Regions from separate parts of the Homo sapiens genome. Here region 1 is linked to region 2. The links are contacts of gene promoters, found by promoter capture Hi-C in blood cells and fetal thymus (Javierre and others, 2016). All regions are on one chromosome and are shown on one strand. The core of a region is centred on a gene start or on the middle of the fragment in contact, and the rest is flanking DNA. Distances in the headings are between cores, read along the strand shown. Region 1 overlaps RAB8B (RAB8B, member RAS oncogene family). Region 2 holds the start of APH1B (aph-1B gamma-secretase subunit).

Evidence for each region. Contacts are between HindIII fragments. The CHiCAGO score rates a contact against its expected background, and 5 or more counts as called.
Region 1: a fragment that was not itself captured here is called in contact with the fragment with the promoter of APH1B in region 2 in 2 of 17 cell types (M2 macrophages and M1 macrophages); the score reaches 5.5 in M2 macrophages.

The regions. Positions count from the first base shown.
Region 1 is chr15:63,221,144-63,225,582 of GRCh38, forward strand. The region is part of intron 1 of RAB8B (RAB8B, member RAS oncogene family); the gene reads left to right. Among named protein-coding and RNA genes, the nearest start is that of RAB8B, 34 kb to the left of the region's middle. The HindIII fragment of the contact is 2,664 bases long and covers 280-2,943 here.
Region 2 is chr15:63,275,420-63,279,323 of GRCh38, forward strand. It overlaps APH1B (aph-1B gamma-secretase subunit), which reads left to right and starts at 2,186. Exons shown (of 6, transcript NM_031301.4): 1 at 2,186-2,317; 2 at 3,742-3,904. The coding sequence starts at 2,205. It overlaps LOC124903504 (a long non-coding RNA gene), which reads left to right. Exons shown (of 2, transcript XR_007064674.1): 2 at 599-1,433. RefSeq lists silencers at 1,713-2,132, 2,213-2,492. The HindIII fragment of the contact is 9,433 bases long and covers 1-3,145 here.

The DNA.
Region 1 (4,439 bases), core at 362-2,861, 55 kb before region 2:
TGAAAAATGCTTAGAGGCAGGGAATACCACAGAGCATGAAAGAGGCATTTCTGAGGTTTTATGCTGAGGAATTGTGAAAAATAATGTTGGATATGTTGGATGGGGCCATATATTTTAAGATGGGTAATTGTAGAGTTACATAAACTAAAAAGGTATCCAGTATCCTGTGGTGCATACAGTCTACTTTGGGAGAAGGGAGGGATTATAAATAACTAATGAAGCTATACTGTATGTATTATGATGGAAGCTAGTACTGTGCTAGAAGTATTATAAGCAAAAAGCTTGAATGGCCATGTCAGTGGTTACCTTTGAGCTATATTAGTACTGCTCTGGCTTAGGGCTTGGCAACATCGCTGACTCAGTGACAAACTTCCTTTTTGGAAGTCCTGGCTCCTCACTTGCCAGCATATGACACTCCCAGTTCACCAGGTCATCCTGTCCCGAACTGCCCAGTTAATTGTGAAGCTATAAGACAGTCCTGGCCAGGGCTCATCTCCACCGCTAGCTGGGGATCCCACCACATAGCTAGACAGGTTCCTGAATGGACTTCTCCTTCAGGACCAGAGCATGGTTGGGGGTCTGTACATGTGCTTGCCTTCCACCCTGGGCTCACGAATTAATAGTGGAAATGTCTTCAAAGCAATTATTAAAAGTAATTATTGCTATGATTTCACTTTTGATTCTCCATTTATTTCACTTCTGTCTGCTTATTTATTTACCTACTTGATGTTTGTGGAGGCATGTATCAGTCAGCTTTTGCAGTTATACAACCCCAAAATCTCAGTTGCTTGTAACAGTCACATATTTGATTATTGCAGCTGAGGATTAACTGTAGCCCTTGGTCAGTTTTCTCTAATATTCATTCTTCCCTGTTTCTCCACCCAGGCTTCTGGGTCAGCTAGCTTCAGACTGGGTTCAGCTGATTAGAGAAACTGGCAGGAAATAATGCAAGAGGAGAAAGGGAGAAACCAAGATATTTCTCTTTTTCCCTTCTTGCCTTGGGTGGCTTCTCTAGCAGAGACTGTTTCTCTCTGGCTTTAGTTCTCACTGGACAGGACCACCATGGTTCTTGTCCAGTGACTCTATGTCTTCAGTTCCTATAACACCATCTCCTCCTTTTGTCTGTCCAGCTAAGGGGTGGTAGTGGCTCCCTGCTGTTGTCATCTCTTCCTTTTGTCTCTCCGGCTTAGGGGTGGTAGTGGCTCCCTGCTGTTGTTAAACCTTTTACCATCCCCAATATGGTTTGCAGCAATTTAATGCCTTATATAGCCAGTTCCCTCTATTAAATTCCTTCTGTTGTAAATACAGTCATGCACCACATAACAACATTATAGTGAATGATGGATCATATATAGGATGGTTGTCCCATAAGTTGATGATGATGATGATAATGATGATTTTTATTATTATTTGAGACGGAGTCTCACTCTGTTGCTCAGGCTGGAGTGCAGTGGCACAATCTTGGCTCACTGCAACCTCCGCTTCCTGGGCGCAAGCAATTCTCCTGCCTCAGCCTCCCGAGTAACTGGGACTACAGGCATATGCCACGACACCCGACTAATTTTTTTTGTATTTTTAGTAGAGATGGGGTTTCACCATGTTGGTCAGGCTGGTCTCGAACTCCTGACCTCAAGTGATCCTCCCGCTTTGGCCTCCCAAAGTGCTGGGATTACAGGTGTGAGCCACCATGCCCGGCCCACATAAGATTATAATGGAGCTAAAACATTTCTGTTGCCTAGTGACATCATAACTATTGTAATGTTGTACTACAGTTACCTTATTTTTTAAATATAATTTTGGTGTAGCTTAGGTGTATAGTGTTTATAGAGTCTACAGTAGTGTACAGTAATGTCCTAGGCCTTCACATTCACTCATCACTCTCTCATTGATTCCTTCAGAGCAACTTCCAGTCCTGTAAGCGCCTTTCATGGTAAGTACCCTATATAGGTATACCATTTTTATTTTACTTATTTTTTGTTATTTTTTGAGACGGAATCTTGCTCTGTCACCCAGGCTGGTATGCAGTGGCATGATTTTGGCTCACTGCAACCTCCACCTCCCGGGTTCAAGCGATTCTCCTGCCTCAGCCTCCCAAGTAGCTGGTACTACAGGCACCTGCCACCATGCCCGGCTAATTTTTGTATTTTTAGTAGAGACGGGGTTTCACTGTATTGGCCAGGCTGGTCTCGAACTCCTGACCTCAGGTGATCCACTTGCCTCGGCCCCAAAGTGCTGGGATTACAGGCATGAGCCACTGGGCCCAGCCACCATTTTTTATCTTTTATACCATGTTTTTACTGTACTTTTTCTATGTTTAGATATGTTTAAACACACAAATACTTACCATTGTGTTACAGTTGCATACAGTATTTGGTACAGTAGCATACTATATAAGTTTGTAGCCTAGGAGCAATAAACAGGCTATACTACGTAGACTAGGTGTGTAGTACATGCTATGATGTTTGCACAAAGACGAAACCACCTAAAAATGCATTTTCCAGAACGTCTGGTTGTTAAGTGACACATGACTATACTTGAAGACACACGACTGTACTTGTACTGGTTGTTAAGTGACACGTGACTGTACTTGGTTGTTAAGTGACACATGACTGTATTTGATTTCTTTTTCCTGACTAGACCCTGACTGATACACTGTTCCAAAAAAGGAGTTTTTCTTTTGTCTTTATATTGTTTTCTTCTATAGTGCGGCCTCACATAGAGGAATAAAAACAACCCATTTTATTATCCCACAAAATGTCTGCTAATGAAGCAGTGTGATGTAGTGGACAGAGTATTGGATTTGGAATCACTGTCACTTATAGCACTGTGGTGTTGGGTAAGTCACTCATTCTCTCCGTGTGGAGATACTTATGATTCCTGTTATACCTACATCTTCAGGGTTGTCTGTGATGATCAAAACAAGGAAATGCTTATAAACTATCAAGCTTTATTCAAGTGATGCACGGAGCCTCAATGATGTTGTAGAACAGTCTGCCAGCTGGCCATATTTTATTTTATTTATTTTTATCATTTGTAGTTGTTTCCAACATAGTTTCTTTCTCATTATAAACTCAGAATTGGAAGATGCAACTATAATTAGATAGAGAAAAGTTATAGAAAATATTCATCCCATGTTGGAAGATATTTATGTATATTTAAAAGGTATTCTTCAAATGGCCAAGTACATTTGACCACTGATAATACCCCAGGTATCCAAACTTTTTTAGTTCTTCCTAGTCTTACTGTAGAACCAAGATCATGTTTCCTGGAGCAGCATGAGTGTCACAGTCCCTGTCACATAGGCTAACATGGGATGGATTTCAATCATATGAGTGGAAAATTACCTAATTGCCCCATCTCCTTAACATCTCTTATTTTGAACCTTGCCTTGGGAGATAGCTTCATTCTGATTCAAAACAGACCTACATAGATGGGGTCTTCTCTAGTTTGCCAGGATGATCAGATCTATTTCAGATTAATCTAGAAATAAGGATTTCATAATAAAATGGCTGTGCTAAGCATACTCAGAGGCTCAAAGAACTAATTCCTAATATTCAGGTCCACCAAGAATGGACCAATTTTCCTTTTGTGATCGCGACATAATCTGGAGTTAGGTTCAACTTTAAGGGATGTATTAGAAACAGATTCCTCCCAAGTCCTCCATAATCTGAGCTAGTACCTCCTCCAGGGTGGACTCTAAAGGGTGATTCTCCTGTTAGTGTCACTTGAGACACAGAATCCTCATCTTTAGCCCAACGAGGGGAGATCAGATATCAGAGATGGGCAGACATGGGTTGAAACCCCAGCTCTGCCACTTTCTTGTTGTTTGTACAAGTTACTTAACCTCTTAGAGCAGCAGGTTCTTTATCAGTGAAATGAGGGTTAGGGATGGATATTTCCTATAGTTCTACCTGGCACATAGTAGGTACACAATAAATATAATATCGTCTTTAACGTAATATCATCATGCTTATCAGACAAAGGACTTTGGAGTCAGGATTCAAAACTCTGCAGCTGCACTACCAAAGTTTGCTGAGCCTCTTAGCCTTTGTTAATGTAACTTAACCGTGTTGGAGTTTTTAGTATTACCATTCCTTATAAATATGTTTGACAATTTTTATTTTTAGCTAGTCATCAAAGCTCTTACAAGTCAGAATTTCAGACTTGACCAGGACTATAGTTTATTTACTGGAGTGCTAGGAGAGAATGCAAAAGTGATGGTATATTGAGTACTTTTAATTTTTATTGCTGTCATATATTTTAAGCCGAATTTGTTTCTAAACAACATGAAAAGTTACTATTAACATTTTTGCCATTTGTGAGAGACAAATGCCGCTTGCTTACTCTCAGCCTTTTGGGTGATAAATATATACTTGCTTCTGGAAATGACAGCAGACACTTTCATATCTTAGGAAATCATGGTTTTGTTAGTTCATCAT
Region 2 (3,904 bases), core at 936-3,435:
TCAGTCCATTTCTCTCCTGATCCTGTATATGTAGTTGCCTACTGAACACCTCCATTTGGAGTGCTACAAGTATCTCAGTCTCAAGGCATCCAAAATGAAGGCCAGGCACGGTGGCTCATGCCTGTAATCCCAGCACTTTGGGAGGCCGAGGTGGGCAAGTCACTTGAGGCCAGGAGTTCGAGACTGGCCTGGCCAACATTGTTCACACTGTCTCTACTAAAATACGAAAATAACCCAGGCATGGTGGCGCGTGCCTATAGTCCCAGCTACTCTGGAGGCTGAGGCAGGATAATTGCTTGAACTCGGGAGGCAGAGGTTGCAGTGAGCTGAGATCACACCACTGCACTCCAGCCTGGGCGACAGAGTGAGACTATGTCTCCAAAACAGTAACAACAAAATAACAAAATGGTACTCATTATCGTGTCTACTTTGCCATATTCTCTCCTCCTCCTGTCTCCACAGCATCCACTTAAGCCCGAACCCTCTAGAAGCCCTCATCCTTGACTCTTCCCCCATCTCACTCTATGTAGCTCATTAGTCACTAAATTCTGTTTGTACAATTCCTAAACTTCTATTAAATTTGTCTGCTTCCCTCCAGAGTCCTGCTAATTCCCTGAATCAGGCCACTGCCATCTCATGCCTGCGTTGCACTGAGGACCTCCAGTCTGGAAGCTCATTTTCCATATCTTTACAAAGCAGATCTATCACTCTGAACTGTTGTCTCGACCCGAGTTTTGATAGGTATTGTGCTGGGATCTGACCATTCAAAATACAATCACTGGAATCTGAAGAAGTATTCTGTGGGAGTGAATGGAAATATATATGACTTTTAAATGGGCAAAGGTAATGTTTTTCTGTAAGAATTAAATACCTGCAGTTGTATTATTTGAAGGTGCATTTTCAGGGGCGAGCTGCAAAACATCTGTCAGGTCCCAACATTTGTCTACTGGTGTTTTTTTAAATGTGGATTGCCAAAATCTTTATTCATGATGGACATTATGTAGGAGTGGTTAATACTTACATAGCACTTACCTGTGTCAGGCACACTGATCAAAATAACCGACGAAGTATTATTCAACATAAAGAAAAATCTAACTTGGATGTGAATGATCAGAGAACTTAAGTTTTAATTTTTAAACCTTTCAGAAATTGTTAATATAGATGTTTATAACTTCCACCTTTTAAATTATTTCACTTATTGAACAGATATTAGTGAACTTCTAGGTGCTGAGGAAACAACAAAGAGCAAAGCAAAGTCCCTGTCCCCCAGGAGTTCGCGTTTTAACGGGGAAGAAAAATAAGCAAGTGAAATGGACGACTGTGAGAAGACGGAGCAGGGAGATGTTACTATTGCTTGTAGGGTGGTCACAGAATGCCTGCAAAAACAACCCTTTTGAAGAATTGGGAAAAAAATAAAAACCATTTGGCTGAAACAGCCCTGAGAAGGGCAGCTTCTTCCACCACTCTTTCATCATTTTACCATCTGTGGGTTATCCCCGGGGTCACTGCTATCCCAGCCTAGGTTTTATACAGGATGGAGTACGAAGTTCCCGCAACTATCCAAACGGTAAAATGTGCTTAAAAAAAAAAAAAAACCTATTTAAAAAGGAATCCTGCTTGTTCCTGCGCTACATTTTTGTTTAGTCTCTTTGGTTGACTTGGAATCTCTGCCTGTTCTCGGTGCATGCGGCTCGAAGGTGGGCTAGGGAGCTTCCCTTCTCTTAACCACCTCGCGGCCGGCACTGGAACCCGATCGGAGTGTATCTGTGGGGCTGCGGCGATGGCTGGGGCCCTAACGTCGCCGAGGACGCCCGCCTCGGGAGCAGGAGCTGCGGCGTGGCCCTGGCGCTTCCGGACACCCGGTAGGGCGGAGGGCCCAACGGTGGGGTCCGCGCTCACCGCCTTGAGCCCGCCCCTGCGCCCGGCGCCCTCAGCCCACGCCCCGCCCAGTCCCCCAGGCCCTAGCGTTTACCCCCACGCCCCGCCTCGCCCCGCGACCCACGTACCCCGCCTCCGAGCCCCGCCCCCGCCCCCACGTGCCCCGCCCCCGAGCCCCGCCCCCGTCCCCGTGCCTGCCCATGAGCCGCGCCCCGCCCCCCGCGTCCCGCTTAGCCCCCCACCCCGAGCCCCACCCACCGAACCCCGCCCGCGCCGGGAGCATCTCGCGTCCCCAACGGGCCCCCGGGTCGGTTTCCGCGGTGGCCATGACTGCGGCCGTGTTCTTCGGCTGCGCCTTCATTGCCTTCGGGCCTGCGCTCGCCCTTTATGTCTTCACCATCGCCACCGAGCCGTTGCGTATCATCTTCCTCATCGCCGGGTGAGGCGGTCGCGTCGGGAAACCCGGACGCCGGGGCTCCCCTCCCCCGCTGGGGTTACCCGCGACCCTCGGCGCCCCCACCGCGCGGCTCGACCTTGTTGCGTTTCAGACGGGAGGAGGGTTGAGAGGGGGAGAGCGGAGATCCGGCTCCCCAAAGGCGCCTCGCCCTCTTAGGAAGAAGCGCACACTGGGGGTCAGGGCCTTTTGCCTGGGGCTCATGGGTGGGGTTTAGTGATCCGTGAAGCTACTAAAGTTGTATAAAAAAATTATGGATAAGTTCATATATGCATCCTTCATTTTCTGGAGGGGGAGTCCCTAATTTCCCTCAGATTCTCAAAGGCATGTGTAATCCCCAAAGGGTTAAAAACCATTGGCGTTTAGGATAGTAGTGCGCGACTTCCGCCTATTAGAATCACCTGTGGCCAGGTGCTTTAAAACATGCCGATGCCCACCCCCACCCCGATCCATTGAATCAGAATGTCTAGGGGATGGGATTCGGGCTTCAGAAAAAAAAAAAAAAATTTAAGCTCCTTTTGGATGGTTCCGTTGTGCAGCCGAAGGGTGGAAACCTGTAAAAACACCGAAGCACCTGACTGTGCGTCTCCTTCTGGGAGCTTGGTAAATACCGGACTCTGGTGTCCCATCGCAGTCATCACCTGCCTCTTACTTGCACATACCACATCCCCCCTCCTCTGATGAGTCTCTCTTGGCACCAGACTAGGCCAATGATTCCCGCTTTTCTGCGTTTCTTCACCTCCCACAAACGTATTGAAAGTGCTTCGCTGCATGTCATTTTAAAAATAATAGAGATTTGGGAAGGGTCTGTAAAGCTTGCTATAATCATTAGAATCCCCAGGGGTGCTGTAAGACCTGGAGGGCTTGGATACTGATCCAGATCAGAACACAGGTTTTCAAGTTGAATTTTATACCAGTCACTTTATTAATAGAGATGTAGATATTTTTCTGGAAAAGATACTCATCTTTGCAGATATCTGATCAGTAAATCCATAATTTCTTGTAAGTTTTAAGAATATGAAAATTGCAGTAATCAGGGTTGTGTATTTTCTTGTTTTGGCTCATCAATGGGCAGAGCATTGATTAGAAAGAGTAGCAAATAACCAAGTTTCTAGCTAGATAGTCCTTGGCAGATAGAGTCTGCAGATGTACTTGCAAGTAGCAGGGTCATTGAAAAAAGTAATTGTTGGGAAACCTCAGCCTTCCTCTTGGACACGTTTGTCTCACCAAGGAAAATGCACCGTTAAGAACAACTGATCAGAGTATCACTTTATGAGGACTTTCTTTTCCTTATTGAAACGTCAAGAAATCTCTTCCTTCTCAAGCAGGTTTTTTTTTTTTTCCTGCTTTTAAACATTATTAATCCTGTACTGATGTTCACTTGTAACTTTTTTTCCCGTATTTTTCAGAGCTTTCTTCTGGTTGGTGTCTCTACTGATTTCGTCCCTTGTTTGGTTCATGGCAAGAGTCATTATTGACAACAAAGATGGACCAACACAGAAATATCTGCTGATCTTTGGAGCGTTTGTCTCTGTCTATATCCAAGAAATGTTCCGATTTGCATATTATAAA